3 separate regions of the Homo sapiens genome follow, and all the other regions are linked to region 2. Evidence: promoter capture Hi-C in 16 types of primary human blood cells and fetal thymus (Javierre and others, 2016). All regions are on one chromosome and are shown on one strand. The core of a region is centred on a gene start or on the middle of the fragment in contact, and the rest is flanking DNA. Distances in the headings are between cores, read along the strand shown.

What was found. Contacts are between HindIII fragments. The CHiCAGO score rates a contact against its expected background, and 5 or more counts as called.
Region 1: a contact is called between a fragment that was not itself captured here and the fragment with the promoter of HMGN4 in region 2, in 2 of 17 cell types (fetal thymus and activated CD4 T cells). The highest score is 5.8, in fetal thymus.
Region 3: a contact is called between the fragment with the promoter of H1-1 here and the fragment with the promoter of HMGN4 in region 2, in 1 of 17 cell types (neutrophils). The highest score is 5.3, in neutrophils.

Annotation. Positions count from the first base shown.
Region 1 is chr6:27,479,390-27,483,188 of GRCh38, forward strand. It overlaps TRD-GTC2-6 (tRNA-Asp (anticodon GTC) 2-6), which reads left to right and starts at 285; the gene lies at 285-356. RefSeq lists a silencer at 338-397. The HindIII fragment of the contact is 3,440 bases long and covers 1-3,299 here.
Region 2 is chr6:26,536,506-26,540,078 of GRCh38, forward strand. HMGN4 (high mobility group nucleosomal binding domain 4) reads left to right here and starts at 1,861. Exons shown (of 2, transcript NM_006353.3): 1 at 1,861-1,996. TRR-ACG1-2 (tRNA-Arg (anticodon ACG) 1-2) reads left to right here and starts at 993; the gene lies at 993-1,065. TRV-CAC1-6 (tRNA-Val (anticodon CAC) 1-6) reads left to right here and starts at 1,549; the gene lies at 1,549-1,621. RefSeq lists enhancers at 1-57, 147-811, 2,072-2,481 and silencers at 845-1,138, 1,532-1,581. The HindIII fragment of the contact is 7,010 bases long and covers 1-3,573 here.
Region 3 is chr6:26,015,600-26,019,191 of GRCh38, forward strand. H1-1 (H1.1 linker histone, cluster member) reads right to left here and starts at 2,188. Exons shown (of 1, transcript NM_005325.4): 1 at 1,433-2,188. The coding sequence starts at 2,133. The coding sequence ends at 1,486. It also overlaps the pseudogene H3P26. RefSeq lists an enhancer at 381-1,380. The HindIII fragment of the contact is 5,921 bases long and covers 855-3,592 here.

The sequences.
Region 1 (3,799 bases), core at 330-2,829, 940 kb after region 2:
ATTTGTAACTCCTATGTTAGCTAGGGCTCCAACCATGGTTGAACATAGACGGAAACCAGTGCGTCACAAAGGAGGCTAGCGAGAGTTCTTTTTTAAAAGGGTCTGACAAAGCGTCCGAGGAATGAAGGAGGAACTGGAGAGGATTCGCGGTTGGGCGGAGACACGTTCGCTGAATTGCCTTGCGTATATTTGGTAGGGGAAACGTGTGACTACAGAGCAAAGAAAGATGGACAATAGCGAGTAACTTCACAGGGATTTCCTAAGAGCTCCATTTTCACGTCAATTCCTCGTTAGTATAGTGGTGAGTATCCCCGCCTGTCACGCGGGAGACCGGGGTTCGATTCCCCGACGGGGAGGAGGCTTAAACTTTTTTTTAGAAAAGCACACTTCCGGTAAACACAGTCTCTAGTCTTCTGGGCAAATGTTGGGTTCTCTTTTTCTTTAGCAGAGTTCTTTCAAACCAACGAAATACTGATCGCAAAAACCATAAGCTGTAGAAATCATGAGGTTCTGTAATAGCAAGAAAATTTCCACTCTGCACTGTAATCTCCATCACAGTGGAGAAACCGGGTAGATACCATCTTACCCAAGTGATTGAATCAGTATTGGGACGAATCTACATTATATACCTTTTTTACAGGATGTGCTCATGAGAGCACAACGTCACTTTTGTGGTATTCTTGGCAAAAATATGTAATCTAAATCAGAAAACATCAGACAAACCCATATTGAGGGAGATTTTAACAAAATAACTGACTTGTACGCCTCAAAAACTGCAATTACTTTTGCATCAACCTAGTAACAGGCAAGCAGGGAGGAAAAATAAATAAATAAATAAATAAATAAATAAACAAATAAATAAAATAACAAAGTTACAGAACACAAAGAAAGGCTGACTAAATAGTCCACATTATAGAAGATCTTAAAGATATGACAGCAACATATGGTCTGGAATTTTTATCTTAAAGGACATTATTGAAATAGTTGGTGAAATCTCAATAAAGTCTATAGATTTTATAATATTATGAATGTGAATTCCTGATTGTATTAATTGTTCTATGGTTATAGAACAAAATGTCTTTAAGAAAATTCACACCTATTTACAAAATACGTATTTAAGGGTAAGGGGAGGTATGTGTCTTCAAACTCACTGTCAAATAGTTCAGAAATATACATTTATGTATATATATGAGAGAGAGAAGGAAAAGAAAATATAGGAATATCCTTAATGTGCTAATATTGAGGGAATTGGGGTGAAGGGTGCTCAGGAATTATCTGTATTATTCATGTACTGTGTCTGTCAGTCTAAAATAATTTCAGAATGGAAAGTTAAAAGGAGAAAAGCCTAATAAAACTATAAATGAAAATATACGAATTAAAATGTAAAAGGGCAAATATACAATTTTGAACAATGCATATGACAAGAGTGACGACTACATTAATGAATAGGAATTTAGAACTGATGAAGGAGTGGGATTCAAAATGTTATAAGTGAGCAAGAAAATTCATAACATGTGACAAAAGCTACATAAAGAGTGAATGCCTGAAACAACATTGTTTCGTAATGATTACATGTTGGAATATGAAAACAAATGGTACTAAATTTCAAAACAGCAACGACAATATAAAATGGAAAGGTATGGCGAAATCCAAATCATTCTAAGCTCCTTTATAATAAGGTAGGAATTAGAAGTGTACCTAGTATATACCCTCGACCAACGCTGAATGGATGAATATTAAAAGCAATATTTTTGTGAGCCATAATCAAAGCCAACAGCATTGCTTCTTTAATGAAAGAATACTCTTCCAGCATATAACAATATGTCTGATTTTGTTTTAAAAATACTTATTGGCCAGGCGAGGTGGCTCATGCCTCTAATCCAAGCACTTTGGGAGGCTGAGGCGGGTGGATCACCTGAGGTCTGGAGTTCGATACCAGCCTGGCCAACCTGCTGAAACCCCATCTCTACTAAAAATACAAAAATTAGCTGGGTGTGGTGGCGGGCACCTGTAATCCCAGCTACTCGGAGGCTGAGGCAGGAGAATCACTTGAACCCGGGAGGCGGAGGTTGCAGTGAACCAAGATTGCAGCATTGCACTCCAGCCTGGGCGACAGAGCAAGACTCTGTCTCCAAAAAAAAAAAAAAGAAAAATAATTATTATTAACATTTTTGTCATGAAATTTTGGCCATCAAATTTAAAAGTTAATATTATTGTGCAACACTTTCAGCCAATGGATTCTTTTTTTCGTTAACACTATTGAACAGTAGAGTGATTGATGCCTCATCCTTTTCACCTAACATTGAATCTCGTTTGTCTCTATTACTTCCTTTTAATCTATTATTTCTTTTTTAATCTAGAAGAAAAATGATTCATCGTGGATAAGAACTATAAAGCAATTGTTTTGTTTGTTTGTTTGTTTCTGGCTTTTTTTTTTTTTTGAGACAGAGTCTCGCTCTATCGCCCAAGCTGCTGTGCAATGGCGCAATCTTGGCTCACCACAACCTCTGCCTCCTGAGTTCGAGCCATTCTCCTGGCTCAGCCTCCCGAGTAGCTGGGATTGCAGGCGTGTATTTTGAGTAGAGACAGGGTTTCACCACGTTGGCCAGGCTGGTCTTGAACTCCTGACCTCGTGATCTACCTGCCTCAGCCTCCCAAAATGCTGGGATTACAGGTGTGAGCCACCAAGCCCGACTTAAAGCAACTGTTTGAAGGCACTGATAAGCTGTCAACCCAGGCAAGGCTTGACAAACTACAATCCTTGAGAGAAGGGAAGCACATTATATGAGTTTGCACATTTGAAAGTGCTTTCCTCCTGAAGGTGTGTCCCGTATTGCACCATTGTGGAATAGACCTCATGTGGAAAGAGGCAGTTGTGCTGGACTAAGGAGATACTGGTCAGAGTTTGGGGCTACCAACGTGCATAGAACTTGATGGTCAAAATTCAAGTGATGAGGGAACCACAGAGAAAGATCTCAAATTTGTATTATAAATTCTCCTTATATTACTGGCTAATTCCTAAGTTGTACCTACACAGGAAGATGTTCCAGTACAGGAAAGAGCAACTGGAAGGCTAATGATCTGTAGAGATCCAGTAGCTGCATGGTTCTAGGGAGACAGAGGTTGATGTTCATGCCTCTCCCAGTTGGAGCCCCATTGGTAAAATGGCTGTTGTTTTGAGACTTCAGAAATACTAACCCTTAGCACTAAGTGATAAACCTTTAAAGTAAGGACCACATAAAAGGAGTAAGGCTATGCCTTCACAGCAAGGAAAAACTAAACTAGACAAATTGTAACAAAGCTTCAGTCTTTGTTGTATCCGGGAAAAACTACCAGAAGACTCTGAATGTTTGGAAATAAAGCAGTTTGTGTCCTACACTCTACAGGTCAAAGAAGAAAACACAATATAAATTTTTAAATGTTTTAAGCTGAAAGATAATGAAAATAAGACGTATCATAATTTGTCTAATGCATCTAAAGCTGTTTATAGAGAACAATTTTTACTTTTAACTACATGTATTACAACAATAGAAAGATTGAAAATCCATGATCTAACTCAAGAGACTATAAAAAGCCAGCAATTTAAATGCAAAAAGTACAAGGAGCTATTAAAAATAAGTGCAGAAATCAATAAAATGGAAAGCAAACATACATCACAGAAAATCAACAAAGTAAAAGTTTGGTTCTTTGAAAAGATTGATAAAACGAATGTACCCTGAATAAGACTGATTTTAAAAAGAGGGTAAGATAACACATGAATACTAGCATTGGGAATGAAACAGATTATATGTATGTGTGT
Region 2 (3,573 bases), core at 611-3,110:
TTATTTAAAATGCTCACCAGGCATGGGGATGATTTATTCTCAGAAATATGGACAAACTAAAACACACACATATGAGACGTTTGTTTGCTTTCAAAGTGAAAAAGTGAACATTCATATGAGTGTCCGGGTTGATGATGCTCCTTATAAAGCTGTCAAATTCTGAGATCAAGGCCCTGCAGTAGAAGCAGCATGCAGTGAGGAGGCCTAGCACAGTTTCGCTTAGTAAAATATTTGAAGAAAAAAAAAAAAAGACCCACAGAGAGACAAATGAAAACTCAGACCACGTCACCGTACAACGGCTTCCAGTTTCCTACAGAATACCAGCCAGAGTCCTTACAAGAGCCTGTAAAGCTGGCCAGAGTCCTTACAAGGGCCTATAAAGCTGGAGGTGGTCTCCCAGGATCTCCTATTCCTCTCCACTGAGCACCGGCCTCCTCAACATAACTCCCAAGCCTGCTTCCACCTCCAGGCCTTTTCCCTAGCGATTTTTCCCTGTTCCAGATCACTCATTTCCCCGATATCAGCATTTATCCCTCATTCATCACTTTCACTGCTGGCCTTTCCTATCCTCTTTCCCTGTTTTATTATTATTTTTCTCCAATCGCTTATCACTATTATTTTGTTTATTTAATGCTTTATTATCCGCTTCCGCCACTGCCATGTAATCTTGAGGGCAAGGGTCTCTCATGTTTTCTTCACCGTTATCTGCAGTGCCTTGAACACTAATACTGGTTGAATGAACGAACGCATTAATGGAGCGGTGATATTGGGGCAGAGAGGATGCAGGGCTTGCTTTTCACCGCCATTTTTCAGCCGGCAGAGACAGACCGAGAAAGGAATGAAGGCCACGGGGCGTGTGCAGAAGTAGCTACCAGAGAGTCCATGCGCTGCGAGCCTGGACCAGCGGGCAAACGCGGCTTACAGGCGTTCACCCAGATATTACGGGTACAACCTAGTTTCTTATGAAATACCTCGCCCCTAAGGTACGCGCAGGGCCAGTGGCGCAATGGATAACGCGTCTGACTACGGATCAGAAGATTCCAGGTTCGACTCCTGGCTGGCTCGGTGTAAGCAGGGTCGTTTTACAACTTTCTGACTCCGCAGGAGTAAGGAAATTCCTGCAAGATAAATTTGCCTGGAAGACTCAGAAGCAAGAGGGGCAGCTCCCGACAACATATGGGGTTATCATTTCTTTGCGGAGCATTCTGCCACTGACCACGTGGTAACGCCAACTACGCCAGAGAAACGCTCGCCCTACCCAAGTTGTGCCCAGCCTTGCCTGGCCATTTTGGCCGAAGAACGAAGGACCGTTCAGAGATTAAATTAAAGTCTCTATTGTGTTCTTCCCTATTCAGTCATTTGTAGAATAAATTCTATGGCTTCAGTTTGAACACTGGAGGGGCTGGGTCTGAGCTTTTCATTGGTTTTTCTGGTTTGAGAGGTCGGTACAGAGACGCACGCGCACATCAGCAAAACACGCACTTGGAACGAAGAAACACGGAACTAGGCAGGAAGAACTATTTACTCTGAAAAATAAGCCCTTAGTGGGTTTCCGTAGTGTAGTGGTTATCACGTTCGCCTCACACGCGAAAGGTCCCCGGTTCGAAACCGGGCGGAAACACGTTTTTTTTTCCTCATCTTACTACGAAATTCTTCCAGTGTGTATCTTTTAAAGACTTTTTCAGGCTGTCATAAATTTCCTGTCTTCTTGTCTTGCTAGATCGGGGCAGCAGTGCTTAGGGCGGGCCTCAGAGGCTCACACACGTATCGCCAGGGGGAGAACCAGCTCTCTCCGGCTTGGACTCGGGGCGGCTCCCCGCCTGCAGCCCCGGAAGCGCATCCTCACCTTCCCTCGCCTTCCTGTTCCTGGCGGAGCCGGGCTCCGCTCGTCTTCTCTGTCTTAGGGCTGGTGCTGGCCCTGCCCACGCCTAGGGCTCCGGCGCGTCACGGGCCTCAGCTGGGATTCCCGCGCCCCTCGGACGGCCACGAGACTCGGGTAAGTGCCTCACAGACTTTGTGCGCTACCCCGGAAAATGAGGGGCGTGGTGGGGGGGGTCCCGCCGCCCTCCGTATACTTAGGACCCTCCTGCCAGCTGGCCCCGGTCATGATTAGGGGCCTTGGGCCCCGTCAGCCCCGCCTGTCTTCCCGTCTCCAGAGTAATCGCAGCATCTCTCCTGAGCTCCGAGTGTGAATCCCTGGGAAAAGCTGAATCCAGAGGTGGGGTCACAGAGAGCCGCAGGCCCGACCGGGATGAGAAGTCCTAATCGGCGTTCTAGGGGCGTTCTAAAAGAAGGAAGGAAGGGGATTTGAAAGGATTGCTCCCGCAGGGCTGTGGCCTTAAAGAGGTGGTGACTGGCAGGTTGGACTGACCTGCCGTGGGCTCTCCCTTCCTCCCCAATTTACCTTCGAGAAACCCTCGTTGAGGAGACACCCAAGGGCTGAGTCCTCCTCCACTTTGACCTTTTGCTATTCCATCACAAAGAAAAAATGGATCCCAAAGTTAAGAAATGGACCAGCACTTGTTTAGAATCAGGACTGGTGCCTTGGTGTTTGGCCTCTTACCTCTGCCACATGGCTTGCTTACAAGTTAATCGGATTAATCAAACGCTTTTATGAGAAAGTTTTGTTGTGTCACCTGGCAGCCTCGGGTGTTCCCTAAGAGGGATTTCTTTCTTAGATGTATTACTACTTTTTCTAGGGATTAGCCAAGCCTAGCCTCTCAGATCATATTGCTCCAGGTTCCCTCAAATGACTAATAAGAATGTGATGTGTTTGTTTTTGTTTGTTTGTTTTTGAGACGGAGTCTCACTCTGTTGTCCAGGCTGGGGTGCAATGGTGCGATCTCGCTCACTGCAACCTCCACCTCGATTCTTGTGCCTCAGGCTCCCGAGCAGCTGGGACTACAGGTGTGTAACACTACACCCGGATAATTTTTGTATTTTTAGTTGGAGACGGAGTTTCACCATATTGGCCAGGCTGGTCTCAAACTCCTGACCTCAAGTGATCCGCCCGCCTCGGCCTCCCAAAGTGCTGAGATTACAGGCATGAGCCACCGCGCCCAACCGAATGTGATATTTTTATGACCATGAGAAAAGAAGGGCTGCATTCTTTGGTGGGTCCGCAAAATTAAAAAAAAAAAAAAAAAAAGAAAAGAAAAGAAAGAAAAGGACAATGTTAATGAGCTGTTTTCTTTTTATCATTTTCTTAAACAGGCTGCTTGGGTAGACGTTGACTTGAAAGGTCCATTCTTTTGTCATCTTGCTGGTTCCCTTAACAAGACAACACCTTGGCTAGCAAGATAATATCTTGGTTAGCAAGACAATAAACTTGGGCATGTGCTCAACAGCAACCTGTCTAATACATTTTCATTTAAAATCCCCTCTGTACTACTCAGAAATATAAGCAAGTTATTATGGTGCCCAGAAAGGGGGCAAAGGTTCCAGGGTCCTAGGAGATGACAAGGATTTATCCTCTTCATCTTTCTCCGATCCCAGTTAGCAGGAATACTTTAGCCTGGAAGGTGAGTGTGCCCCTAACCAACCTTTACAGATGGGTGACTGTTTGGGAGCTTA
Region 3 (3,592 bases), core at 938-3,437, 520 kb before region 2:
CAATCCCAGCTACTCCGGATGCTGAGGCTGCAGGATAGCCTGAGCCCAGGAGTTGGAGGTTACAGTGTGCTGTGATTATGCCACTGCAGTCCAGTCTGGGCAACAGACTGAGACCCAGTCTCAAAAGATAACGTGTTTTTTTTTTTTTTTTTTTAAAAAAACAAAACCACAAGTATGCATGTATATAGATAGGTGTATGTAAAATACTTAGTTCAAAGAAAAACATGTATATTTCTCACAAAAATAGGTGAGAATTTTTGTTTTAAAGGATAAACCTAGGTAGCTACATATTAGTTTGAGGAAGGGGGAACAGGGATGTGATGTGCCTGTATCCCTGACTTTAGACGATGGAAGGAGCTAAGCAAAACAATTGAAAAAAGACCGTTTGAAAAATACAACTGATTATTAACTCATATGCACACACGCAAAAATAAACTTTTAGAATTGAACTGCACTAAGTAAAAGTGAGTAAACTTGGCTCATCATATACTCTTGTCAGATGTAAACAAAAAAGTCCAATTATTAAAATCTGACCCCCAGAATTAAAATTGCAAAAGCTTAAAGGGGCAGTTCTGAGAAAAGGATCTTCAGTTTTGAATGTGTGGGCTCCACCAGGGTTGAAAATCCTGCACGACTGATGAAACACGATCCAGTTAAGCACAGTAATTTTCAAATATCCAATCAGGGCGCTTCCGTTTCTAAAAACAGAGAAACCGAGCAAGGGATTTTGGGTTGCAGCTCTAAAACTCCAACAAACTAAGCTCCTTTGTCCTGACAAGGGCCTAAACCAAGTCGACAGCCCGTAAGTGCACCCATGGTAAGGCGCTGCACAAAGAAAGCATTTTGCGTTTCAAAGCTTTGTCATGATGGCGCTGCAGAAAGCAAGCGAGCTAGGCCTACCTGGCGGGGCTTTCAGAGGACGCCAACGTGGGCGCCAGCCACGCCAGCAGGGTCACCGTCCTTCCCAAGGACAGACAGCTCGCTAGCCACTCCTGTGGAGAGGGCGTGGTTAAGCCATATATTTTGCCAACTATCCCAGAAGCATTTCTTAGGACCACCCAATTTCGGAAAATGCTACTTTAGCAATATTGACCCCAAAACGCAATATCCCCACTTTAACCTTGTATAATAAAAAGCCTCAAGCCTGGGACTGGGCTTCAACCTTGGTTCAATACGGTTATGACTAATTAGCTTGGAGTCGTGAGACGCGGGACTTCCGGCTACCGAAACCCAGGTGACTTTAAAACTCGATTTTAACTCGGTGCATTTGAATTCACCTTGCTATCTTTGATAGATTGAGTAGTAAATTCTTACTAGATGAGGCTATGTTAAAGTTCTATCGACTCTCCAAGTGATTCTAATATAATTGAGGGCGTGTTGCATTTGCTTGGGGGATTTCATCTGTGTACTACAGCTCTTTTCCTGAAATGCGTAGGTGGCTCTTAAAAGAGCCGTTGGGTTACTAGAAGAAACTTCTAACTGAATTTACTTTTTCTTGGGTGCCGCTTTCTTGGGTTTGGCAGTCTTTGGCTTCGTCACCCTAGCCTTGGCCGCCTTGGGTTTTACAGCCTTAGCTTTAGCAGGGCTTTTAGCTACTTTCTTGGGCTTTACAGTTTTGGGTTTTTTTGGATTCTTGGAGGATTTCCTTGTTGCCGCAGGCTTTTTAGCCTTTTTCGGAGTCTTGACGCTCTTTTTGCTAGCCCCCGTGGCCTTTTTGAGCTTTTTAGATGCACCCGTTGCCTTAGTTTTTGTAGCCACCTTTGAGGCGCCGGGCTTGGTTTCCACGGAGGACGCCTTCTTGTTGAGCTTGAAGGAACCCGAGGCTCCGGTACCCTTTGTCTGCACCAACGTTCCCTTGCTTACCAGGCTCTTAATGCCCAGCTTAATGCGGCTGTTGTTCTTCTCCACGTCGTAGCCTGCGGCCGCCAGCGCCTTTTTAAGAGCTGCCAACGACACACCACCACGCTCCTTAGAGGAGGAAGCAGCCTGCACGATCAGCTCTGACACGGAAGGGCCAGCGGGTTTTTTCTTGGAGGCTGCTGCAGCCTTAGCAGGTTTCTTTGCCTTCTTGCCAGCTAAAGGTTTCTCAGGAGCAGCAGAAGCGGCGGGGGCGGGAGGCACTGTTTCAGACATGGTGACTAACACAGCACACCAAATAAAGTGGTATAAACCTGACGAAGCAGGATGCGAAAAAAAGGCCCCAACGCAGCCTATTTATAGGGTGGGACTGCGCCGTGATTGGTGCCCGTCAGTGCCCGCCCCTCGCGCCCTAGCGCCCCCTGCGCGCTGCCGAGGGTTTCGCCCAGTCTCAGAAGGCAGCTGGGGGCCTCTAGGGCCTATGGTCCTGCTCCCCTCAACGCAAGCAAACACACAGAAAAAGCCGCTCTGGTTGCCTCATTGTGAAGGAAATTGTAGGCAGACTGCCGCCCAGTAACATCAGAGGGTACCGCTTCTCTCTCAAAAAGCAGCTCTTTTTTAGGGAGTAGGTTGAGAGGGGGCGGTTTACAAATGCAGTGCCACAAGCATCCGAGGAGTTTTATTAGAAATTTTTAGAGGTCCGTTGCCAGAGATGTTAGTTTTTAATTTGCAAGAAATGTAAAATACAGTGTTTTGAATAGTTGCGGAGGGAGAGAAAAGTGCGAGTTTTAGGCCGTGTTAGGGCCAGTTGTCATCAACTCTATTACATTTTCTGGCAATGTTTTAGAGCGATGTGTCTCGCGAATACCTTTCACGTCAAACAAGAATGAATCGTAGACAACACCAGAATTCACAAACGCTGCAATTAATACTCAAACTGCAAGTGTGGAAACGTTTCTGCACTTGCAACTTATTTCCACAGTCCAATGTGGGATGCACTTCAGGAATTTCCAATGCCCTTTTCATCCATACAACATGCCCCAAATTGGTATTAAGGTTTACAACCTGTGTTCCATGTCAGCACACGCAATCAGCGCACCATGACATGGTCAACTCATTCTTTTATTCAACAAATATTTATGGGCCTCACAAGCCTGCGAAAGGCGTTAAATGCTGGGTCCACGAAACCGGTTCCCTGACAGGCATTCTGCTGGGGAGTTAAGTCCACTTAGTGTGAAAGCAAACACGGGTGATAAATGCAAGCACACCCTGGGGATAAGATTTTATGGTAACAACCCTTTAACTTGTTTGTGGCTGTTAAGTGCATTTCAAAGTATCAATAAGCTAAAACGATCTCACATTGCCAATCAGAGACTCAGCTAATGGGAGAATAAAAAACTATTAAATCGACATCCACTTCTACAATCCTATTCTGGATAACCCCCTAGCACAGCACAGCAGAGAGTGAGGTAATGCGGTCTTATTTCCGCTCCTGCTGTGGTAGTTTTCAAATAAGTCCGAACCATGCTAAGTAACCTGAGCTTTTCCCCTTTTTGTTCAAACAACGTGCCAACCAAATAATGGAGTGGTCCCAGATAAGTATTGTACCCATCTTCTGCACCAGTGCTTCCTACGTCCCATTTTATTGAGAAGGCATGCATTCAAATATTTCACGTAATTTCTAAAAATTTGGAAAATAACGGTTGGAAACTCTACATCTTGGTTTGACGGCTAG